Regions from separate parts of the Homo sapiens genome. Here regions 1, 2, 3, 5 and 6 are each linked to region 4. Evidence: promoter capture Hi-C in 16 types of primary human blood cells and fetal thymus (Javierre and others, 2016). All regions are on one chromosome and are shown on one strand. The core of a region is centred on a gene start or on the middle of the fragment in contact, and the rest is flanking DNA. Distances in the headings are between cores, read along the strand shown.

What was found. The method cuts DNA at HindIII sites, captures the fragments that hold promoters and counts their contacts. A CHiCAGO score of 5 or more calls a contact.
Region 1: a fragment that was not itself captured here is called in contact with the fragment with the promoter of PIM3 in region 4 in 1 of 17 cell types (endothelial precursors); the score reaches 5.2 in endothelial precursors.
Region 2: a contact is called between a fragment that was not itself captured here and the fragment with the promoter of PIM3 in region 4, in 1 of 17 cell types (non-activated CD4 T cells). The highest score is 5.1, in non-activated CD4 T cells.
Region 3: a contact is called between a fragment that was not itself captured here and the fragment with the promoter of PIM3 in region 4, in 7 of 17 cell types (M0 macrophages, monocytes, M1 macrophages and 4 more). The highest score is 8.5, in M0 macrophages.
Region 5: a fragment that was not itself captured here is called in contact with the fragment with the promoter of PIM3 in region 4 in 1 of 17 cell types (endothelial precursors); the score reaches 5.1 in endothelial precursors.
Region 6: a fragment that was not itself captured here is called in contact with the fragment with the promoter of PIM3 in region 4 in 2 of 17 cell types (megakaryocytes and neutrophils); the score reaches 6.7 in megakaryocytes.

What each region holds. Positions count from the first base shown.
Region 1 is chr22:50,091,556-50,095,915 of GRCh38, forward strand. MOV10L1 (Mov10 like RNA helicase 1) reads left to right here. Exons shown (of 27, transcript NM_018995.3): 2 at 446-630. Among named protein-coding and RNA genes, the nearest start is that of MOV10L1, 3.7 kb to the left of the region's middle. The HindIII fragment of the contact is 1,116 bases long and covers 1,720-2,835 here.
Region 2 is chr22:49,797,324-49,801,107 of GRCh38, forward strand. BRD1 (bromodomain containing 1) reads right to left here. Exons shown (of 13, transcript NM_001304808.3): 4 at 1,665-1,796; 5 at 1,235-1,363; 6 at 482-794. Among named protein-coding and RNA genes, the nearest start is that of BRD1, 29 kb to the right of the region's middle. The HindIII fragment of the contact is 3,930 bases long and covers 215-3,784 here.
Region 3 is chr22:50,189,367-50,193,292 of GRCh38, forward strand. It overlaps TRABD (TraB domain containing), which reads left to right. Exons shown (of 10, transcript NM_001320485.2): 2 at 3,661-3,727. The coding sequence starts at 3,695. Among named protein-coding and RNA genes, the nearest start is that of TRABD, 5.4 kb to the left of the region's middle. RefSeq lists enhancers at 289-903, 904-1,518, 1,204-1,563, 1,834-2,053, 2,244-2,393 and 4 more and a silencer at 2,544-2,593. The HindIII fragment of the contact is 1,058 bases long and covers 938-1,995 here.
Region 4 is chr22:49,959,254-49,963,663 of GRCh38, forward strand. It overlaps PIM3 (Pim-3 proto-oncogene, serine/threonine kinase), which reads left to right and starts at 1,519. Exons shown (of 6, transcript NM_001001852.4): 1 at 1,519-1,779; 2 at 1,872-1,981; 3 at 2,065-2,115; 4 at 2,189-2,558; 5 at 3,436-3,612; 6 at 3,687-4,410. The coding sequence starts at 1,695. The coding sequence ends at 3,874. MIR6821 (microRNA 6821) reads left to right here and starts at 3,613; the gene lies at 3,613-3,686. RefSeq lists silencers at 492-551, 692-971, 1,012-1,651, 1,702-1,851, 1,992-2,041 and 2 more. The HindIII fragment of the contact is 13,464 bases long and covers 1-4,410 here.
Region 5 is chr22:50,119,531-50,123,331 of GRCh38, forward strand. MOV10L1 (Mov10 like RNA helicase 1) reads left to right here. Exons shown (of 27, transcript NM_018995.3): 10 at 972-1,086. Among named protein-coding and RNA genes, the nearest start is that of MOV10L1, 31 kb to the left of the region's middle. The HindIII fragment of the contact is 2,305 bases long and covers 809-3,113 here.
Region 6 is chr22:50,144,822-50,148,579 of GRCh38, forward strand. MOV10L1 (Mov10 like RNA helicase 1) reads left to right here. Exons shown (of 27, transcript NM_018995.3): 19 at 868-989. Among named protein-coding and RNA genes, the nearest start is that of PANX2, 24 kb to the right of the region's middle. The HindIII fragment of the contact is 7,030 bases long and covers 1-3,758 here.

The sequences.
Region 1 (4,360 bases), core at 1,028-3,527, 130 kb after region 4:
CGTGTCAGCCACGCAGAGGTCCATACATGCACGTGTGTTCTGCCACTTAACCCTTCAGCAGCTCTCTTGGGTAGTGACGATTAGTCTCCATCTTACAGATGGCAACAGGCCCAGAGTAGTTAAGGACCTAGTCCAGGGTTACACCAATGGCAGTAGAAGAGCTAGGAGTCAACCCCATGCAGTCTGTTGTGGAGTCAGGGCTGTCACCTCCACAACCACTACCTGTGCCCTTCTGAGGAAACTGGGCTGTCTGCCTCCAAACCCCACGTTCCAGACACAGCACTCTCTGATGGGATTCTCTCTGTCTCAAGTCAGCCCGTTCGGAGTCAGTGCCTCCGAACTGCAAAAAAAGGAGGCTTTTGCACTCTGCCTTTCTCTGGTGGGGTTCACTGTAGCGTACGCTTGCTTTTATGGCCAAGATAACTTCTTTGTTTACCTACCTCAGGTGACACTAAGCTGAAAACTGTACGGGGTGTCGTGACAAGGTACTGCAGCGATTATGGCATGATTGATGATATGATCTACTTCTCCAGTGATGCTGTGACTAGCAGAGTGCTTCTGAATGTTGGACAGGAAGTGATTGCAGTTGTGGAAGAAAATAAAGTGTCCAATGGACTGAAAGCAATCAGGGTAAGGTTTGAGTTCATTTGGGAACAGTTTTTCTTCGCCACGGGACTTTGTGTTGTTTTTCCTTGTGTTTAATCTATCAGACATGACCCGGCCAAGGGAGAAAGAGTGGAATGTACCTTCAAGGGGATGCTTTTGCTCTTTATGATTTATGTTTTAAAAAATAGACTGGGTACAGTGGCTCACGCCTGTAATCCCAGCACTTTGGAAGGCTGAGACAGGCAGATCACTTGAGCTCAGGTGTTAAGAGACCAGCCTGGGCAGCATGGTGAAACCTCGTGTCTACAAAAAAAAAACCCACAAAAGTTAGCCTGGTGTCGTGGCACATACCTGTAGTCCCAGCTACATGGGAGGCTGAGGCGGGAGGATCGCTTGAGCCCAGAGGGTCAAGGCTGCAATGAGTTATGATTGCACTACCACACTCCAGCCTGGATGACAGAGCAAGACCCTGTCTCAATAAATAAACAAACAGCAGTCTTTGTAAATCATTCAAACAACATAGACATGTATACTTTAGAAAGTAAAGTTTGCCTATGAATTTATGCTGTGGAGAACATAGCAATTATATATCCATTATTTTCTTGCTTTTTCAACAATTTAATGGTTATCACCAAAGTAACATCAATAATATACAAATTTATACTCTTAGGAGCAGAATGAGAGACTGCACTTAATTTGCACTTAAGCCTTAAGTATGGTAACTTTTCTTTTTCTTTTTGTTTTTGTTTTTGTTTTTTTCTGAGACGGAGTCTCTGTCGCCCAGGCTGGAGTGCAGTGACGCAATCTCAGCTCACTGCAAGCTCCGCCTCCTGGGTTCACGCCATTCTCCTGCCTCAGCCTCCTGAGTAGCTGGGACTACAGGCACCCACCACCACACCCAGTTAATTTTTTTGTATTTTTAGTAGAGACGGGGTTTCACCGTGTTAGCCAGGATGGTCTGGAGCTCCTGACCTCGTGATCTGCCCACCTCAGCCTCCCAAAGTGCTAGGATTACAGGTGTGAGCCACCGCGCCCGGCCTCATGTTTTTTCTATGAATTATTTTTGGGTCCTTTGTCCACATTTTTGTTGAGTTCAGCTTTTTCTTTTGTTAAAGCTTATATATTAGGGAAATCAGAGCTTTTTAAGGAAAATTATTATATGAAAGTGTTAGGAATATTTTCCCCAGGATCATCTTTGACTGTGTTTTATAGTTTCATTTTTTGTAGTTAAGTGTGCCTCTTTTCCATGTAGCTTTTGGATGCTGTAAGAAGCCTTAGGGAGGCTTATTCCACTTCTTATTCCTAATATTCAAATTTTACTCTGAAAATTGTTTATTGACAATTAGAATTTTTTTTTCAATTTTTGAGACAGAGCTTTGCGCTGTCGCCCAGGCTGGAGTATAGTAGTGCGATTATAGTTCACTGCAGCCTGGAACTCCTGAGCTCAAGCGATTCTTCCACCTCAGCCTCCTGAGTAACTGGGACCACAGGTGTACACCATCATACCTGACTAATTTTTAAAATTTTTTTGTAGAAATGGCGTCTCACTGTGTTGCGTAGGCTGATCTGAAACTCCTGGCCTCGAGTGGTCCTTCCACCTCGGCCTCCCAAAGTGTTGGGATTACAGGCATGAGCCACCATGCCTGGCCTGTTTGTTGATATTTAAATATTTGACCTGCCTGGAATTTATTTGGGTGCACAGACTGAGAGAAGGAACCAGACATTGCTTTCCTAATGGCTAGCCAGTCATCTGAGTAGCTCACTTTTTCCCTGCTGATTTGGAAAATTCCTTAATCATGTATCAGAATCCCACCTGCATGTGATGTGGTCCTGATGCTTGTAAGGGGGCCCCATGGCATGGTTGCTGTGATAGGTGGTGAGCAGGTTTCCCTTCTTTGCTCTTATTAGCATATGGTATTTTTCTGGCTCTTCACATGTTCTGGATGAGTTTGGAATCTTGTTTCTCCCCCTCTGCCCAGATTTGCTTTGGATGGCACTGAGTTTATGCATTTCATTTAGAATAATTGATATTTGGGTCATATGGAGTCTTTTCCATATGTCTGTCCATTTATTTAAGCCTTCCTTTGTATTCTTTTTATAGTTCAATAGTTTTCTTCTTTTAGGTCCTGTAAATTTCTTACTAAATTTATTTTCAGGAGTTTTTATGTGTTCTATTAACATCATTTTCCATCGTATTTTCAAATTAATCTTTTTCTTCCTGTATGGGAAAGCTTTCAATTTTTTTTTTTTTTTTTTGAGACGGAGTCTCGCTCTGTCACCCAGGCTGGAGTGCAGTGGCATGATCTTGGCTCACTGCAAGCTCCATCTTCTGGGTTCACACCATTCTCCTGCCTCAGCCTCCAGAGTAGCTGGGACTACAGGCGCCTGCCACCACGCCCAGCTAATTTTTTGTATTTTTAGTAGAGATGGGGTTTCACTGTGTTAGCCAGGATGGTCTCGATCTCCTGACCTCGTGATCCGCCACCTCGGCCTCCCAAAGTGCCGGGATTACAGGCATGAGCCACCATGCCCAGCGATTTTTAAATGTAATTTGGAATCTGGCAAACGTATTGAGCTATTAACTACTTTTTAAAAATACTTGAGATGTACTTTATTATACTATTATAGTTAGTACCATCTAATGCTTAGTATCATCTTTCTCAAATTAAAAAAAAAGCATACCCAATAAAATAATTCAAAGTCTAGAATTCCATCATTCAATATGGTAGCCACCACTCATGTGCAGCAGTTTCGATTTATTAAAACTAAATGCAACTTACAGCCAGGCGCGGTGGCATAAACCTGGAGTCCCAGCACTCGGGAGGCTGAGGCGGGAGTTCGAGACCAGCCTGGGCACATAGAGACCCTGTCTCTTAAAAATAAATAAATAAAAGTGTTTCCTCAGTTTCCCTGGCCACATTTCAAGTGCTAACTGAAGCCTAGTGACTACCAAATTGGGCAGCACACATAGAGAACATTTCTGTCAGCTCTGGCTTAGAGACTGTGAATGCAAAGTAGAAGAGCCTCCCTCCACGTTCCCCACCTGCACTTTCATGCTGCAGACCTGATGCTCTTCTGGGTTTCTGTTTCTACCTTATCTGGTAGATAGTTGAGTCACTTAAACAATATGCTTGTATCTTTTATTAATTCACCAATGTTAGTATTTATGGACTTCCATCATCAGAGATGTACAACTGGCTCATTCACACTACCCTCTTTTCCTCTCCCAATTATTTAATTATATTTTTTCCTCCAAAGATTTCCTTTTGAACTTGAAATTATACGATAGTCCTCATGTTTTTGTGTGTATTTAAAGGAGTACTCTGGGTTCAGAATCTTTGAAAGAGGATCTGGAACCCAGAACCTGTAGAGATGATGTTTACCTCATTCTCTGAGCTGTGGTCGTGTACTCACACGCGGCCTTCCAAAGCAGGTTCTCATACCAAATTCCCGTTGATTTTAAGATACACCATTAATTTGATAATGAAAATTTAAAATGGAAACGTAGGTTGTGAGACTCATTCTGATCTCAGAAATGTGACAATGTGGAAAAACTGGCCCCTGGGTGTCCAGCAAATCCCAGCCCTCTTGGTGGTCAGCTGCCCTTCACTTGTTCCATCTTGTAAGGAATGCAGGACCTTTTTTGTTATGGTGAAGAGGGTTCATCTCTACTCACAATCTTGCTTTTATAAATTAGTAATGGATTTTTCAAGTACTTTTCAGTATCTTCCAAATGATCCCATAGTTTCTGTCC
Region 2 (3,784 bases), core at 930-3,429, 160 kb before region 4:
TCCTCCGGCTTCACGCCACCCTCAGAAGTTAGCCGAGGCCCACTCTGGATGAAAACCCCCAACTAAGCTGCTTTCTGGGTCTGCATCGTCGAGACCGGCCACCCCATAGGGAGCCACAGCCACACAGTCCTCTTGGTGGGCACCCAAAACGCAGCCAGTCTGAAGTGACAGGTGCTGAGCGTAAAATACACATCAGATGGCAAAGAAGGTGAAAAGCTTATATATCCTCAGTAACGTTTACCGATCCCATGTTGAAATCAACTCTTCCATACACTGAGTAAAATAAGACATATTATTAAAGTAAATTCCACCTGCTTCTTTTCCATTTTTCAGTGAGGCTACTAGAAAATGTAAATGATGTATGCGGTTGCATGCTAGTGGCTCCCGGACCATGCTGATAGGGAGCTGGCAACACAGAGCAGGACAGAGTCTGCTAGAAAGAGCGTCTTCCACCTCCTCCGGACACGGCGCCAGTTCTTACCGTCTTCCCAGGAGAAAGGCCGCCGCGGTGCCGCAGCAGGCCGCTCAGGCAGGTGCATCCCCGAGGCCTCTTCCAAGCCGATGCTGTCCACCTCGCGCCGGGCCTGCCTCAGAACAACACCTCCCTGATCGCGCAGCCTCACCGCGGCTCTATAGAACACGGTGTCCCTGGCATTGTACTTCATGCAGTTATCTATAATGAGATCAAAATCCTCCTCAAACTCATGGAGGTTTTTATACCCTTGAGCTTCTAACCGTTTCCTCATTGTGGCAAAGTCCATGGGATGTTTAATGTGATCCAAATAATCTGGTACCTAATTTTAGGGAGGAAAAAGAATCATTTACAAACTAAAACAGGATATTAGTTGACTCTATATTTATTATTCCATATAACCCACAAGCCCATCCTATCTGAGAGCCACACACAGACACGCAGACGGTACAGACATAAGACCCAAGTACTGCAGGGACCTTCCCGACCCCAGCTCCTTCAGCTAAAGCACGCTGGAGGGTGCCGGGCGGATGCTGCCACAGCCCAGGGTACTGTCTGCACAGGGCCTCTTGCCCACTGCACTTTCAGTATTTTACAATGAAATGTATCACTTTTATAATTTAAAAACAAATACGTTAAATAAAAACGAGAATTAAGAACACAAGGGATGTACTCTAGCCAATCACACGTTTCCCGGTCAAACGGCAGCACAAATCCACAGTCACACATGCGGCAGGACAGACGAGCGCCGCAAACACCCACCTCCTTCAGACTCACGGGCTGCGCAAATATCCTGGCGGGGTCCTTGTCTTGCAGCTGGTCCAGCACTGAGCGCAGCAGCACCGTCAGCGGGGTCAGCCGCAGCTCCATGGCGACCTGCTCCACCTTCACCTGGGGGGGCCCAGCAGAGCCTCAGCTTTAGGGAGCCGCACATGCGTCTCAGCCCCACCACGCGCCCCACAGCCACAAGCAGCCCCCACAGGCTCCTGTGCTTCCGTCCAGGCATAGGACAACGCAGCCTCCACTTAGGGCTCTGCAACCCATGGCAGCCAGGCACCCAGCCTGGGCTGAGCAAGGCACTGCTGTGGGCCAGGACCCACCGGGTGCAGCCCACCCTCTGCAGGAGCTGCCAGCGTCCCACCCACGCCCCGTGGCCAGTGGTGCACTCCACGCGGGACAGGCCCAGCCCCACCTGCTCACGCTTGAGCTTCTCCCGCTTGCGCAGCAGCTCGATCAGCAGGCGAGCGCGCTCCAGGTCGTGCCGCAGCCGCTGCCAGTACTTCAGCTTCTCTTTGGCAGCCTTCATCTCCTCATCATTTTCTCTCTGAGAACAGTGAACACTTCCGTCAGTCAAACCCAGAGGCTCCTTCTGCAAAAGGCCTCAGATACCATGCAGGTGAGACCCCAAGAGGCATCCACGTCAGGGGTCCTGCAGGCCCATCCTGGGGAGGACAACAGACCACCCTCACTAGAGAGCCCCAGGACAGCACCGGGACAGAGGGGACAGAGGAGACAGAGGGGATGGAGGGGACAGAGGGGACCGCCAGGCCAAGGTGAGCAGGGGGCTGGCCCCGGTGCACAGGTTCCACCCTCCAGAGAGGACAGAGGCCTCCGCAAGCTGGCGGCGGGGGGGGCCTTCACAGAACCAGAAAGGCCCACAAAGGCGGGGCCAGGACAGAATGGGGGACCCTTGAGGACCCACCTCCAGGACAGCTGGGAATGGAGGGAGCGGCTGGAAAGAAACCAGGTGCACAGAAAACCACATGCTGGGCCCATCCTGGCTTGGACAGAGCATGACGGGGGCCTGGCACACAGCCGACCTGCTGCCCTGCCCTGCACAGCGCCTCCATCCCGACACACGTTTCCCCACAGCCAGGGTCCCATTTCCATTGATAGCACCTGCTCCCTTCTCAGTGGACAGAAGAGTGCGCCAGACAGCACAGGCCGCCAGCCTCAACCCAGCCAACATCCACACCAGGGTGATCAGAAGAAAATCAGAGCCCTGCAAAGGCCATGACACAGATGGTCGCAGGAGAGTAGGCCACCTGGGTCTGCCCTCAGCCCTGTCCTCACCATGTCCCCCAGGCCTGGCCGCATGAGGCCTGCTCGTCACAGTGCCGGGGCACCCTGACCCTACCTCAAAGGGGAGAGGAAGTCAACGAGGGAGTTGGCCTGAGTGGGCCCCCAACACCTGTCATCCTCCACAGCTGCAGGACACGCGCGCCCTGCCAGCCTCAGGACAGCCGTGGCCATCAGTTTCTGGCACATGCTTCACAGCCCTGAGACCCTCCTCTCCCCCAACGCCTCTGTCCCCGGGTTCCCACCTGCCCACCTCAGGGTACTGTCATAGCTTTTCAAAGGACCGAGGGTGTGAAGGCAAAGACTGCTGGACTACAAGATGCAAGGACCCCGGACTCCAAACTGCTCAGAAAAGGAGGCTCAAGGAGGGAGGCCGAGCCCCGCACCCCCACCCCCAAGGCCAGGCCTCTCCATGGCGAGGCAGAGCGTTGCTGCGCTGATGTCCCCTGAAGTGAGGATCTCTGGGTTTTCCTCAATGCTGCTGAACACCCTCAGGCAGGAAATCGGGGCTAAGAGTAACAAGATCCACATCAACTCAAGCAAAGGCAGGAAAATGTGGGCTCCAAAAACCAAGCTCCCCGGAGCATCTGAGTATTGCCTGTCCCTCAGCTTGCAATCGACACTTCTGAAAACCTCGGCCAAAAGGACATTTGGCCTGGGAATCTGTTACGAAGCGGAAGAAATCTCCTCATCACCAGGAAGCCCTTTATCACGCACTGGCTGCTAAGCAAACTTACTAGTCTGCTCCCCAACCTGGTTTAACAAACGCCATCGGCAGTGGCAGGGGCCCCGTTGACAGCACCTGGGCCCAAGGTCCCATGACACATGCAGCCTCATCCACTCAGAAGGATCAAGGTTCCTTACTCGGCTCTCAAGGGCTCGATATTTCCCATGTAAAAATCAACAGTGGGAGGCTCCACGAGAAAGGACAGAAGTGAAGAAGCACTCAGGCATCCCCACTGCCGGGAAGAAGCTGAGCGCCTCCGCGTCCATTCCAGACACATGGGGGAGACACAGGGCAGGGCTAGGCGACGGTCAGGTTAAAATCGCCTCTGCTGGGAGGACAGGCCAGCTCCTGGGGTGAGGGCCCACAGTGTTACAGAGTGGCCGACCCCAGGCCTCCTGGCAACAGCACCCAGCTCCTGCCACTGGGCCCAATGCCGCCAGCAGGTGCGTGGGACTGGCAGAGGCCACACACGCAGCACAGCAAGGACGATGTGGGCAGCAGCGCCC
Region 3 (3,926 bases), core at 217-2,716, 230 kb after region 4:
AGGAGGCATGTCCCACAAATCGTGTTCAGCACCCACCCCAGTCCTGCTCGGTGGACGTCCGTGCGGGGCAGGGAGAGTGAAGCACAGCTGGTCTGATACAAGCGTCTGGCTTCCTGCCAGGCTGCACCGCTTCCCAGCGGGTTGGCCTTGCAGGTAACAAGGCCAGAAGCCACTGCGAGGTTCCCTGGGGCAGTGCCAGCACTGGGGATTTGGGAAGGAGAGATGTCTGTCCCCCCGGAGGGGCAGCCAGGGTCTGCTGGTCTCTGCTGATGGGCCTGAGCGTATCTGAAAAGGACAGGTAGAAAGGGGGTGGCTGCAGCGTGCGCTGGCCGGACCCCAGGTGATGCTCTGCTGGGACCCAGAGGGGGTGGCTGCAGTGTGTGCTGGCCGGACCCCAGGTGATGCTCTGCTGGGACCCAGAGGGGGTGGCTGCAGTGTGTGCTGGCCGGACCCCAGGTGATGCTCTGCTGGGACCCAGAGGTTGTGGGGCTGGGAACCAGGTGGGGGTTCTTCAGACATTGTCTCTGAAGACACTTCAGAGTCCAGGCTCAGCATCTGTGGCTTTTGGGCCAGGGCCTTTTGCTCACCGCCAGGCAGCTGGGAGAGGCTCTGGGCCCAGCCATAAATGTCTGAGAGCACAGCTGCCTGGGAGCAGACTAGAGGGAGGAGGGCTGGTAACCTGAAATCACACCCTAGAGCTCTCCAGGGGCCTTGGCGAGGAGGGAAAGAGAGTGTTGAGACTGTAAGAGTGACTGTCAGAGACGTCCCCCAGAATCACGGGCTTTAGGTGCTGGGGGGTCCTCAGTGACCTTCCCGCCTGGCTCCCTGCGGGCAGCACGCCTCTGCTGAGAGGCTGCAGGGGCCAGGGCTGGGGGCTGGCACTGCCTCTGGTGGCGCTGACATCGTCCTGCTCAAGGCTTGGCAGCCGGCCCAGGAAAGCTTCTCTGCCCTCCCTGACAGGAGACCTGTGCACGCCCACCCCATGGCACGACTGGGGTCAGGACCAGCGCCTGCTGCTGCACCGAGACCCTGCCCTGTCCATGGCCACAGGCGTACCCTAGGCCGGCCTCAGAGGCGGGTCTGGCCAGGCTGGGTGGAGGGTGGGGGCTGACCGCAGACCTGGGGCTGCCACACCCATGGGGGAAGGGCTGTGGCGACGTGGGCGCCTCCTGTTGGCTGGGCCGACGCAGCCTCCCGCCCGGCTGCACAGGAGTTTCTTTAAGGAGTTTCCCCGGTGTGCCTCGGCAGCCTTGCGCTGCTCTAATGGTCCGGACTTCCGTGTGTGAGTTTCCCCCGTGCGCCCCGGCAGTCTTGCGCTGCTCCTAAGAGTTCTGGCTTGTGTGTGTAGCTAGACCCAGGGAGGCGGCCGTCTCCCGGACCGGGTGCTTGTCTGGGCTGGCTGGCCTGGCGGCTGCTCACAACAGCTTCCGGTGGGTTCCGGTCGGGTTGCATCGTGGAGCTTTCACCTACAAAAGGGGAAGGAGGCGGCCCAAGGGTCCGGGGCCTGGTCCTGCTGTGACCGGTGCCAGCTGCACTTCCTGGATGTGCCAACCGCTAAGACGCCCAGGCCAGGGTTGGGTCCAGACTCAAGCCCAGGTGGCAAGGAGTGGGACCCCCTGCCAAGGCTGTGAGGCCCCATAGGGGAGCCTGCCTGTGGAGCGGGCCCCCCTTGCCCTCTGCAGAGGCTCAAGGCCCCCGGGGACATGAGCCTGGTGTTTATCAGCTGTCTCCTTAGTCTCAGCTGACCTCCCCCGACCATGGCCCCATTGCACCACCCACCCCAAGCCAGGCCAGTTCCTCTCCCAGAAGTCCCGGCTGTCCAAGAAGAGGGCAGGGTGGGCTGCCCTCTTCTCGGCCAGCTTCAGATGGGGCCTCTGGTTGCACTGAGACAGGCCTCTTCCCCTGCTCAGAGCCGTCCCTGCTCCCCCAGCCCCTGAGCTGCCCTCCTAGACACTGCACAGAGAGCTCCTTCCTGTTCACAGGTTAGGACACCCAAGCTTGGAGGCATCTTAACTTGGATGTGGGTGGCCAGGACCCAGCTGGGTCTGTGAGTCCTGGCTGGGGCCGAGGTCTGTGCCTGCTGTGGCTGTGTGCCAACAGGGTTTGCAGAGGAAAGGAACCTGACATAGCGTCTTATTGCTCATTGTTCCTTTTTCTTATGAGTTCTGAGAAGTGGGCAGCAGTAGTGACATGAAAATGACCCCAGATGCACGCAGGCATCAGTGCAGAACCCGGCAGTGGCCCCTCTGAAGCACATCCTACAAGCCCCGTCGTTTCCTCGCCAGATGCTCGTGTCTGACTGACGCAGACGCTTCAAGACAAAACCACAATACCTTGCACGACTAGACAGCTCAGAATGGTTTCCAACGGCTCATTTTTATTTTTTACTTTTGTTTTTTTCTTGAGACAGAGTCTCCCTCTGTCACCCAGGTTGGAGTGCAGTGACAGGATCTCGGCTCACTGCAACCTCAGCCTCTCGGGTTCAAAGTGATTCTCCTGCCTCAGCCTCCCCAGTAGCTGGGATTACGGGTGTGCACCACCACGCCTGGCTAATTTGTGTATTTTTGGTAGAGATGGGGTTTCACCAGGATGGTCTATGTTGGCCAGGCTGGTCTCGAACTCCTGAGCTCAGGCAGTCCATCCACCTTGGCCCCCCAAAGTGCTGGGATTACAGGTGTGAGCCACCGCGCCTGGCCTGTTTGGGATATTTTAATGATTCTGCCTGGTGACACATCCATCCGCCAGGACATGCATGAGCCATTAACTTGGTAAACAGTCACTCCTGGCATTCCGTGGCTGAGAACATTCAGGAAGAGCCACATGGTGCAGCAGGGCCTGTGGCCAGTCTCAGGACAGCCTGCTGGTCCCTGGCCCCGCCTCGAGGGGCTCCGCGCAGGTCTCGCCGATGCTCTGTGGGTCTTGGCCGGTGCGTGCCTCTGGTGCTGCAGGCGCCTGGCTGTTTTCTTCCTTCCCTCAGGCTCCTGGGCCCCCGGCCTGAGCTCCTGGTTTCTGAGAGTCTGTGGGGAGCTGTGATGCCTCGGGGCAGCCCCCTCGTGTGGCTGCCCCAGCCTGTCCGGGTTTCTACCGTGGTTCCTTCCACACCATGTTTGTCTCTTAAAGTGGGAGAGAAGGTCTTAGGTCCAAACACGTTGATTTGTGTGCTTTGTGGATTCCTCCGTCTGTACTGACTCTGTGCCGGTGTTGTTGCCCAGGCTGTAGTTACTGAAAGGGGAAGTGGCTTTTGTACAAAGGCCCTGGGGTCCTTGCCATGTGTCAGCAGCTGCGTTGCTGTGTCCTGAGATCATGTGTGGACCCCAGGGCTGCCTTCCTATGTGTGCCCGCCGTGCCGCAGTGAGGGTTGGGCAGCTCTGGCCCTGTTCTGAGTGAGGCCTGTGCACCAGCAACCCGCCCTGGGCCCGTCTGCGTTTGGTTTATGCTGGGGTGTCTGGGGACCTGCTGGCCTTTCCCCACCCGGGCCTGACCTGAACCGACCCTGGACCTCAGCAGCCTTTGATGGGCAGGAGGCATTTGGGGATATGGGGGAAGGAGCCCCCAGGCCCACCCAACAGATGGTTCTAGACTGACAGGGCACTACGCAGTGAGTCCTGAGCCAGGTCTGGGGCTCCAGGTGGAAACCCCGCCTCTCATGCCTCTCCTCAGGCTCCCCACAGGTGCAGGAAGCCGCCGCCCAGCCATGGACGGGGAGGAGCAGCAGCCACCGCACGAGGTGAGGTGGAGGCTGGGCTGGCTGCACAGAGACAGGGGCGGGGGGCTTCCCCGCTTTGTGGGCTCTCGGGGTCGGTCCCTGGCTGTTGTTCTGCAAAGGTGATCTTCACAGGGTTCTCCAGGGTCAGGCAGGAGGCACCTCCGAGGGAGAGGGGCGCTGGGCTGAGGTGGCCTGGTGGCCCTGTCTGCCCAGCTTGATG
Region 4 (4,410 bases), core at 269-2,768:
AACAATGTCGCGTTGGCTTTGATCCTCAGGACCCAAGGGACAGGAAGAGATGAGCTAGGCAAGAGAGGAGCCCCCAGGAGCACAGGCATGGGCCCAGGCAGCGGGCGACGAAGCGAGCCCCAGAGGGCGCCCAGATGGCAGGTGGGCCTGGGCCAGTCCCGAGAGCCACAGCCTCAGAAGAGCTGAACAGGGGAGTGGTGTGTGAGTGGTCAGCGCAGGGACAGCGATGGTGACTGTATAGAGATGAGAGGTCAGACTTAGGGGAGGCTGGAAGCTCCGAGGCAAGTGTGTGTGCGCGCTGACGGTCACACCAGACCGCCCGGGGATGTCTGCCACAATATTTAGACCCCTGAGGGCCACTGAGAACGCCTGGCAGTGCCAAGAGGACCAGCCCCTGGGCCCTCTGGCCCCCAACTCTCAACCCACTAGCCCTGGGGCTGGCGGGTGGCCACTCACGTCCTGGAACCCTGAGCTGCTCTCAGGCCGGTGACTTTGGACCAATGTTGGCAATCTGTGGGTTTGCACCAAACCACACAGGTGAGTCAGACTTCTGTACAGAGAGCAGGGAAGGGGCACGACAGGGTGAAGTCCAGACCAGGGCAATGTGTACCCCGGCTGTTCAGCCTTTGAGTGCGGCTGTCGCAGCAATCAAGGTGGGCTCCCTGGTGGAGGTGGACAGCAGCTGCTGGAGAGCCCGGAGGGCAGCCAGGACCGTGTCAGACGGCAGGAGTCGGGCGGGGCCACTCCAGGCACCGGCCAGCAGGGCAGAGGTACCAGGGAGGGCCCTCGGGCTGCGGGCGTGAGGTCAGAGCCCAGGGTGAGGAGGAAGCATCTCCAGCCAGGTGCGCTCTCGGCCCCCGCCGGGGCTGCGAGGCTGGGGGCGCTGCCGCTGCGAGGGCTTCCAGAGGAGCCGGCGCTACCTCCCCGCGCGCCCGGCCACGTGCGCGACGGGATGCGCAGACAGCCGGGGACGCAGACTGGCGGCGTGTGTCACCTCGAGGCCGCGGGACAAGCGCAGGTCGCCTCCCGCACTCCCACACCCCCAGGAACCCTGCTCGGGGCCGGCGGGTGACCTTCCTAGGCACTGCTGGGGGCGGAGCCAGGAAACGGCTCGCCCCGCCATTGGCTGGGGCGCCGGATTTCTTTAAAAACTCCGGCTTCCATTGGCTCGTGCAGTCCCTCCTCGTTCTGCCCGAGGCGCCACGGCCGCCACCCGCGCGGGCACTGCGCCTGCGCGGAGTGAGAGCGTGAGCGCGGAGAGCGGACCGACGCGACACGCCGTGCGCCTCCGCGGCTGCGCTACGAAAACGAGTCCCGGAGCGGCCCCGCGCCCGCCGCACCCGGCCCTCGCCCGCCCGAAGACAGGCGCCAAGCTGCCCCGCCGTCTCCCCAGCTAGCGCCCGGCCGCCGCCGCCTCGCGGGCCCCGGGCGGAAGGGGGCGGGGTCCCGATTCGCCCCGCCCCCGCGGAGGGATACGCGGCGCCGCGGCCCAAAACCCCCGGGCGAGGCGGCCGGGGCGGGTGAGGCGCTCCGCCTGCTGCGCGTCTACGCGGTCCCCGCGGGCCTTCCGGGCCCACTGCGCCGCGCGGACCGCCTCGGGCTCGGACGGCCGGTGTCCCCGGCGCGCCGCTCGCCCGGATCGGCCGCGGCTTCGGCGCCTGGGGCTCGGGGCTCCGGGGAGGCCGTCGCCCGCGATGCTGCTCTCCAAGTTCGGCTCCCTGGCGCACCTCTGCGGGCCCGGCGGCGTGGACCACCTCCCGGTGAAGATCCTGCAGCCAGGTACGCGCGGGGCCGGCGGGGCCGGGGCCGGGGCCAGGGCGGGGACCGGGGGCGCCCCGGGCCGCACCAACCCCGCCCGCGCCTCCCTGCAGCCAAGGCGGACAAGGAGAGCTTCGAGAAGGCGTACCAGGTGGGCGCCGTGCTGGGTAGCGGCGGCTTCGGCACGGTCTACGCGGGTAGCCGCATCGCCGACGGGCTCCCGGTGAGTCGGACCGCCGGGCGGGCCCGGGTTTCTCGCGCGCCTTGCGCCTCGCTTGGCCCGGCCTGACCCCCGCGTCTCCGCAGGTGGCTGTGAAGCACGTGGTGAAGGAGCGGGTGACCGAGTGGGGCAGCCTGGTAAGTTGGGGCACGGGCGGCGGCGGCGGCGGGGGGCGGGCGCGGGGCTTTTGCTGACCGCCGTGTCCCCCAGGGCGGCGCGACCGTGCCCCTGGAGGTGGTGCTGCTGCGCAAGGTGGGCGCGGCGGGCGGCGCGCGCGGCGTCATCCGCCTGCTGGACTGGTTCGAGCGGCCCGACGGCTTCCTGCTGGTGCTGGAGCGGCCCGAGCCGGCGCAGGACCTCTTCGACTTTATCACGGAGCGCGGCGCCCTGGACGAGCCGCTGGCGCGCCGCTTCTTCGCGCAGGTGCTGGCCGCCGTGCGCCACTGCCACAGCTGCGGGGTCGTGCACCGCGACATTAAGGACGAAAATCTGCTTGTGGACCTGCGCTCCGGAGAGCTCAAGCTCATCGACTTCGGTTCGGGTGCGCTGCTCAAGGACACGGTCTACACCGACTTCGACGGTGAGCGCGGGCGCGGGGCAGGGAACGTTCCGGGGGCCTTGCCGGCGGGTTAACGCCTGCAGGGGCGGCACATGGAGGGGCTGATGACTGTTGGGCGGCCGCGCGCCCTGGGTCTGCTCTCGTGGGGAGCAGAGGCCCACGCGCTACCCTGGGGAGGGCTGAGCGAGGGATCAAGAGCGGGATCGTGCTGGGTGGGGGCTAGGGGCGCGCTCAATATTGCTTCCTCCATCGCGTTGGGGGGTACGGGGCCTCTTGCCCCGGTGTGGGAGGCGCGTGACATCCTTCCGGCCCGAGAGACCCCCGGCTGGGGGCGGTAGCGGAGGAGTCTCCGTGCGTGACGCAGGGCGCAGCCGGGCTGGGTCTGCGCCGGGAGCCTGGAGGCCCCCGCGGCGCGGTTGGAGTGGCGGGGCCTCCCCTGCGTGGGGGCGGGAGCTGCGTGCGTGCGGAGCGCGGGGGCGCGGCGGCAGAAATCCCCGCATTGCGGAGCTTGGGGAAGCCGGGGCTCCCCGCCCGCCCCTCCCTCCTCCCTCCCTCTCTCCCCTCCCCCCGTTCCCGCAGGCAGGCGCGCCGGGCGGTAAGGGACCCGCGCTGTCCCCCCCCCACCCAGGTAGCCTCACAGCGCATCTGTTTGTTGTGAAAGCCGAGCTCTTACTCATGTGACCTGCTCCTCCCCCGCGGCCGGCGGAGGGGGACGGCCGGCCCCTCCCCCAGCCCCCCCATCGCCTGCCGGGGTTTTTCCAGGGTGATGACGAGCAGGATTTTGAGGCCTGGCTCTGCTTCCTGTTACTGAGGCCAGGGAGTTAACCAGCAGGGACCTCGCCGTCTGTTGAGCGGCTCTGCCTCTGTGGTGGGCGTGCTAAGCCCTGTGTCCCCTTAGGCACCCGAGTGTACAGCCCCCCGGAGTGGATCCGCTACCACCGCTACCACGGGCGCTCGGCCACCGTGTGGTCGCTGGGCGTGCTTCTCTACGATATGGTGTGTGGGGACATCCCCTTCGAGCAGGACGAGGAGATCCTCCGAGGCCGCCTGCTCTTCCGGAGGAGGGTCTCTCCAGGTGCGTGGTGGCTCGAGGCGGGGGTGGGGGCCTCGCCCTGCTTGGGCCCTCCCTGACCTCTCCGCTCCGCACAGAGTGCCAGCAGCTGATCCGGTGGTGCCTGTCCCTGCGGCCCTCAGAGCGGCCGTCGCTGGATCAGATTGCGGCCCATCCCTGGATGCTGGGGGCTGACGGGGGCGTCCCGGAGAGCTGTGACCTGCGGCTGTGCACCCTCGACCCTGATGACGTGGCCAGCACCACGTCCAGCAGCGAGAGCTTGTGAGGAGCTGCACCTGACTGGGAGCTAGGGGACCACCTGCCTTGGCCAGACCTGGGACGCCCCCAGACCCTGACTTTCTCCTGCGTGGGCCGTCTCCTCCTGCGGAAGCAGTGACCTCTGACCCCTGGTGACCTTCGCTTTGAGTGCCTTTTGAACGCTGGTCCCGCGGGACTTGGTTTTCTCAAGCTCTGTCTGTCCAAAGACGCTCCGGTCGAGGTCCCGCCTGCCCTGGGTGGATACTTGAACCCCAGACGCCCCTCTGTGCTGCTGTGTCCGGAGGCGGCCTTCCCATCTGCCTGCCCACCCGGAGCTCTTTCCGCCGGCGCAGGGTCCCAAGCCCACCTCCCGCCCTCAGTCCTGCGGTGTGCGTCTGGGCACGTCCTGCACACACAATGCAAGTCCTGGCCTCCGCGCCCGCCCGCCCACGCGAGCCGTACCCGCCGCCAACTCTGTTATTTATGGTGTGACCCCCTGGAGGTGCCCTCGGCCCACCGGGGCTATTTATTGTTTAATTTATTTGTTGAGGTTATTTCCTCTGA
Region 5 (3,801 bases), core at 711-3,210, 160 kb after region 4:
TTTGTTAATCCAGCGTGTCTGTTGAGGCCACATGGTTCTGTTAGCTGTTCAGGCTGTTGACCTAAGCCTGTAGTGATCATCCTGGTTTCCCTTTACCTTGTTCGTGTTAGTAATCAATGCTTTCCAAATACACCTCGCATGTGAGCGCTGACATAACCCTCAGCACAAACCATGGGGAATGTCTTCACCCCGTTTCTCCTGTTGAGGGCTGAGCCAGTGGAACCCAAATTGAGATGACAGTGAATGGAATACGGAGAGCAATGTGGGCTTCTCTCTTGGGTGAGACTGCACTGAAATGGAGAGCTGGGAGGGAATGAGGGATAAAGGTCCAACCAACATCCTTATTTGCTGAGTTGAGTTTTATCGACCTCACTCTGACTTTTCGTTTCCCTGTTCTCTCCTGGCTTCTCCTCTCCTGTCTGTCCCTTTCCCATTGTTTCTGTTGCCGCATTGGGCTTGGCTCCAGAGCAGCGATGTTCTTCATCCTGAACAAACTGAATTTCCCCAGAGAAACCACAGGCTGGGAAACAAAACAAAAACAAATCGAAGGCAGGACCCAGACAGAGCAGCCTTTTCCTAATGTGTGCTTTGCAGGGATAGGCCCAGGTGGAGTCCTGATGTCAAATATAGTAGGAAGAGCTTAGCTCATAGAATGTTAAAAACAGCTGTTTCCAAACTCCTGGTTCCAGGAGATTCTGGGGGTTCCAGCCCTGTTTTCCCACAGCCTGTGCAGCTACACTTACCTGTTTACAAATAGTAGAGCACTTGTGGGAACTGTTTGAGGAAAGGATCCCAGAGCTAAAACGAAAGCTTCAAACCACTGCCTTAGACCAGCTATTCATATATCAGTTCTTCTCAGGAAATGGATGGACTTTGGTCTTCCTAAAATAGGAAAGGATGTTTAGGTAAGAATGTCTAGTGATACCTGGTGATAAAGACTTATTTTTAACTTGTGAACTTAATTTTTTAAGGAACTCAAGACGACAACTTCCAAGTTTTCTTCCCCAATATCCAATCCCAGATAGACTTAGAAAATGTGTGGAACAAAAAATTGACATCCTGACTTTCCAGCCATTACTTGCAGAGGTAGGAAGTGTCTCATGGCCTGTGGGGTGTTGGCATCTTCTAATGCTCTTGTTTTCTGACAAAGCCAGGAGGTTCCTTCTCAGGTTCAGACCTTCATCTGGCTTGTTTTCTTCACAGGTAGCTGGGATAACGAGGGTCACTGCCTGGCCGTGAGGGATGAGGCACCATAGCACTCACGCTGCCAGACCTGCTGTACACCAGGGGCTGGCATCCCACAGCCTCACTGGGGGTCACGCACAGGGCCTTTGGGGTCTGGAGCAGAAGAACTGAGGGATACCTCTGCCATCAGCCTGGCCTCTCTCGCTAGACTAGGAGGCCTTTGTTATGAGCAAGAAGTGTTCTAGCCTTTTACCATCATCCTGACAGAGCCAGCAGGGCAAGGGTCCAGGGGAGGAGAGCCCAGGTCCCCACCCACATGGGAGACAGAGGAGCACGTTCTGAGTGGGGTAGGTGGAGAAGAAAAGTTCAAGAAGGAAGAAAAGTCTATAAATTTGGCAGTTTGAGGGGAGAACATTGCCCTTTGTCCAGGAGGGTTTTTTTCTGTAGGGGTTTGAGGTGTTCTGAGAGTCCCCAGCTAAACTGGAGTTCCAGTGCCAGAGCAGCTGGCAGCCCTGTCCTAAGGAGAATGAAGGGAATGGGACCTAGGTGTTCACCATGCGCCCTTCAGGGGATCCTTTCCAAATACACCTCCTTGTTTAAAAAAATGTCCTTGTTTTACCAGGAGGACAGCTGATGCCCCATGACCGGGGTTCCTCACGCAGGAAACTTATTCTGGCAGACGCCCCAGTGGCTCTCGTCTGACCTGTATCCAGGTTATGCCTGCCTGATCATCTGGCACTGGGAGCCCAAACTTATGTTCCCCAATGCCAGGGAAAACCCGGCCTGGGCAGTGCTGGGTTCTTAGGATGGAAGGTGCAAATTCAATCCACTGCCGTGATAGAAACAAGTTCAGATGTGTTTTACTCACAGATCCTGGGCAGGGAGGTTGCCATGAGTCGCGAGCGCAGTCCTCTGTCCCCCAGTCACTTTGAGTTTGTAGGCAAATGCCTGAATGGTTCATCGAGGTGGCAGAAAAAGCTGGACCTGGGTCTGCTAGGATGGAGAGGTGCTCCTCAGCTCCTCCCTGGGGACCCAGGTCTGCTGGGCTTGGAGGGTGCTCCTCAGTTCCTTCCACAGGCCACCGACTTGATGTTTTGATGCTGCAGCTTTGTAGTAAGTTTTGAAATCAGGAAATTTGAGTCCTCCAGCTTTGTTGTTCTTTGGCAGAATTTATTTTGCTTTTCAAGATCTTTTATACGAATTTTAAGATGCATTTTTCTATTTCTGCAAAATATAGCATTGGAATTTTTTTTCCCCAGAGACGAGGTCTCACTACATTGCCCAGGCTGGTCTCAAACTCCTGGCCTCAAGTATTCCTCCCGCCTCAGCCTCCCAAAGTGCTTGGGATTACAGGTGTGAGCCACTGCACCCGGCCTGTCATTGGAATTTTGATGGGAATTGCATTGAATCTGTAGATTGCGTTGGTTAGTATGGACATTTTAACAATATTGAATCCTCCAGGCTATGAACATGGAATGTGTTAACATTTATTTATGTCTTCTTTAATTTCTTACAGCAGTGTTTTGTCATTTTCTCTGTATATGTTTTTCACTTCTTTGGTTAAATTAATTTGTAAGTATTTTATTATTTTTGCTGCTGTTGTAAATACATTGCTCTCATAGCTGCCTTTTCAGATTCTTCAGTGTTGTTTAGAAATGAAGATAATTTTTGTCCTTTGATTTTGTACCCTGCTACTTTGCTGAATTTATTTATTCTAACAGTTTTTTGTGGAATCTTTTAGAGTTTTCTACATATAAAATTATGCATGCCATCTGCAAACAGATAATTTTATTTCTTCCTTTCCAATTTAGATGCCTTTCATTTCCTTTTCTTGCCTAATTGCTCTGGCTAGAACTTCTAGTACCATGATGAATAGCAGTGGTGAAAGCAGGCATCCTTCCCTTGGAAGTTCCTGATCTTATGGGAAAAGCTTTCAATCTTTCACCATTGAGTATGATGTTAACAGTGGGTTTTTCATATATGACTTTCATCATTTTGAGGTGATGGTTTTCTTTCTTTCTTTCTTTCTTTCTTTTTCTTCTTTTCCTTTTTCTCTTTTTTATTTATTTATTTATTTATTTATTTTTGAGACAGGCTCTCCTGTCGCCCAGGCTGGAGTGCAGTGGCGCAATCACAGCTCACAGCTGTGACTGCAGCGGCACACCACCATGCCCGGCTAACTTTTGTATATCATAGAGACAGGGTCTTACAATCCTCCCGCCTTGGCCTCCCAAAGTGTTGGAATTACAGGCAAGTATGGGTGTGAGCCACCACACCCAGCCTGATTTTCTTCTCTTCCTAGTTTGTTAAACGTTATCATGAAAGGGTGTTAAATTTTGTCAGATGCTAGCTGGGTGTGATGGCATGCACCTGTAATCCCAGCTACCTGGGAGGCGCTTGAGCCCAAGAGGCAGAGGTTGCGGTGAGCTGAGATCGCACCATTGCGCTCCAGCCTTGGTGACAGAGGGAAACTCATGTCTCAAAAAAAAAAAAAAAAAAAAAATTCAATTGCTTTTTCTGTATTGAGATGATCATATGATTTTTTTTCCTTCTGTTAATGTGTGTTGCTACAGTAATTGATTTTCAAATGTTGAACTATCCTTGCATTCCAGGAAT
Region 6 (3,758 bases), core at 838-3,337, 190 kb after region 4:
CTGCCCGCCTCGGCCTCCCAAAGTGCTGGGATTACAGGCGTGAGCCACCGTGCCCGGCCTGGTTTGGTTTTAAGTATTCCTTTAAGTTGCTGGTTTGGTTATAGAGCGAAGTATTGCTTTTATTTTTTTGTTTGTTTGAGACAGAGTTTTTGCTCTTGTTGCCCAGGCTGGAGTGCAGTGGTGTGATCTTGGCTAACTGCAACCTCCGCCTCCCGGGTTCAAGCAATTCTCCTGCCTCAGCCTCCTAAGTACCTAGGATTACAGGTGTGTGCCACCACATCCAGCTAATTTTGTATTTTTAGTAGAGACAGGGTTTCACCATGTTGGTCAGGCTGGTCACGAACTCCTGATCTCAAGTGATCCACCCGCCTCTGCCTCCCAAAGTGTTGAGATTACAGGCTTTAGCCACTGTGCCCAGCCTGAAATATTGCGTTTAAAAAAGACATTGAAAATAGCTGGGCGTGGTGGCATGCGCCTGTAATCCCAGCTACTCCGGAGGCCGAAGCAGGAGAATCACTTGAACCTGGGAGGCAGAGGTTGCAGTGAGCCGAGATTGCACCATTGCACTCCAGCCTGGGCGACAGAGCAAGAGCAAGACTCCCTCTCTAAATAAACAAACAAACAAACTGAATAGAAAATGTACAAAGTTGTTTTGGGGAAGGGTCTGCAGGATTATGTGTTATATTTGTGGCTCTAGAGTTGATAAAACATGGACTGAATTGATAAGGAAGTATGAGATATTTTGAGAAAAAAACCTTAAATCATGACTTAGACGTAACTAAGAAGTGGTACCAGGGCAAGGTTCCCTTTTGGAATTCTGCTTAATAATTGGAGGAGTAAACTAACTCTACGCCTCCTTGCCCCCAGATAGTTATTGACGCCGTCAAACCGTATTGCAGAGACGGAGAAGACATCTGGAAAGCCTCACGCTTCCGGATAATCATCACCACATGCAGCAGCTCAGGGCTGTTTTACCAAATAGGAGTGAGGTGAGCCCCGGGCATGGAGCGCGGCATGGGGCCTCCCAGGGCAGAGGTCGGAGTCCTCTCCTAGCTTCTGTCTGAGGGGCGGATGACCCAGAGACTCAGTGCTCAGGGAGGGAGGCAGGGCTGTGGGCGAGAAAGGCTGGTTGGGGAGGGCCGTGCCTGAATGGAGCTGGGGAAGCCGAGACCCCAAGGACTCGAAGGAGCCAGCAGTGGGATGGGCAGGCAGATGGACTGGCCCATGCAGAGGCCCCGCGGTGGGGGAGCACTGAGGTCTCCCCAAAGGAGACTGTAGAGCCAGAGCCTCGTGAGCAGGAACGGCCTGAAAGGGGTGGTGAGGGGGAGGCCTGGCGGGCTGTGGAGGGGCCTTTGGACGACCTCTGGTGAGCCGGGAAGCCAGTGAAGGGCTTCTGAGCAGGAGAGTGAGTCTCTTGGAGTGGGCGTGGGGAGGCAGGCTGCCTAGGAAACGGCTGGGCTCTGTAAGGTCAGACCCTGGGGGCCATTTGTGTCCCTGGCGCTGGGGGCTCTTCAGGGGAGACAGGCGGAGGAGATGGATTGTGGGGTGCCGGCTGTCATAGGAGGACCTCCCCTGGGGGCTGGGAGGAAGAGCTTCGAGCCCAGGGAGGCTGAGTGAGGACCAAGGCACTCTCAGACCCCAGTGCAGGGGGGTGGGGTCGGGGAGGCAGCAGGCAGCTCCCTCTCAGTGCATAGAGCCAGACAGTGTCGGGGGCACAGGCTGAGGGTGAGAGAGGGAGAAGCCAGGGCCTCTGAGGGAAGCCCCACCCTCCCTGACGGCCTGGAGACAGGTCGCTCTGAACAGTGTCCAGCGTCACAGTGGTCGTGACCCTCCCTGACAGCCTGGAGACAGGTCACCCTGGACAGTGTCCAGCGTCACGGTGGTCGTGAGGGTGACCACAGGAGGTGGTCCGTCAGCTCCACATGGAGCAAAGGCACAGCCAGCCACGCCTATCACAGCGTGTCACGGATGGTTTCATCGGCGCGTTTAACTCTCTCACATACATGATGTCCTTTCATCATGAGATTAGTAGAACGTGATTGATGAGACACTTTACATTTTTTTTGGTTCAAGTCTTCAAAATCCACCATGTATTTTACACTTAGAGCATGTCAGGTTTCAGACTAGCCACTGTGCGGTGCCCGAGAGCCGTGTGTGGCTACCGGATTGGACAGCACGGATCTGAACAAGACAGGGATTTTTTTTGTTAATGTGTGTTGATGAGTCAAAGGTCAAGAGCCGAAGAGCCAGTCCTCACTGGGGTGCAGAGGGCTCTTTGGGGGCAGAGCGGGCACTGCATGGACCCTGCACCCTGGAGCTGATGTTCAGGTAGTGGGAGGAGGTGGCCGGCCAGGGCAGGCCGCTCTCTCAGAGGCACTCTGTGCAGAAGCAGGGAGGGTGCTGCAGGCCGCTCTCTCAGAGGCGCTCTGTGCAGAAGCAGGGAGGGTGCTGCAGGCCGCTCTCTCAGAGGCGCTCTGTGCAGAAGCAGGGAGGGTGCTGCAGGCCGCTCTCTCAGAGGCGCTCTGTGCAGAAGCAGGGAGGGTGCTGCAGGCCGCTCTCTCAGAGGCGCTCTGTGCAGAAGCAGGGAGGGTGCTGCAGGCCGCTCTCTCAGAGGCGCTCTGTGCAGAAGCAGGGAGGGTGCTGCAGGCCGCTCTCTCAGAGGCGCTCTGTGCAGAAGCAGGGAGGGTGCTGCAGGCCGCTCTCTCAGAGGCGCTCTGTGCAGAAGCAGGGAGGGTGCTGCAGGCCGCTCTCTCAGAGGCGCTCTGTGCAGAAGCAGGGAGGGTGCTGCAGCCCAGCTGCAGAGGCCCCACAGCGTTAGTTGGCCACTGGGGGCGGCTGGAGTGGGGAGGGGCACTTCAAAGGGCAAAGAAGTAGCAATGTCATCTGGCAAAAGTGACATTAAATAACTGCAATTAATACAGAATTGAAACCTAAATACTTACATTCTAGGAAAGATACATAATGTTAATTTTTTTCAACAGAAATAGGGACATGAGATGGGGAAATGGCAGTTTGCTGATTTCCACATCTTTCACTGGGAGGGGTTCACGGTGTCACTTGTGAAATCCGTGTCTTGAGAGTTACACATTGATACCTGAAGTGAAAGGTGTCAGCTGACCGTGAGTGGATGCAGGACATGTTGGGCCCAGCACTGCTGTAAGCAGGAGCCCGCCCCCGCACAGGTCTGACCACAGGGTCTCACCCCACAGTGGGACACCTGAGGCTCAGAGGTGATGGATTTGCCCAGCATCTAGGGTTGGAGAGGGGAGATCCTGGAATCAGCAGTGAGAAGGGTAAACGTGGGCTCGGCAGTGAGGACGGTGCGGGCCCAAGGTGCGTCCTGTTGAGTGTTGGCGTGGCTCCGGACACTCTCTCTGCCCCATACCTGCTTCCTCAGGCATCAGGACATGTTTCTGCCCCAAGAGCATTTCCCCACTGAGGCCTCCTGACCACAGAGCAGAAGCTGCTGGGGTGGGCGAGCCAGGGAAGCCGGGGCACCTGTTCCTCAGCTCATGGCCCCAGGTGGGGTGGCCCCTCTGCACTCTAGAAACAGATCATGTGCCGAGCGAGCTCCTGCTCTCCGCTCAGTCCCACAGCCTTCCCATGCAAGAGTTCCGCAGCTTCTCCTGACGACTCCTTCCCGCAAAATCCCCACCCCGTCCATCAGCAACGCTGTGGACTCTCTGCTCCTGCACCTCCCTTACCTCCCTTGTCACACGGAGAAGGAAGAGCCGGACAGGTACCCGCCAGGAGGGCTG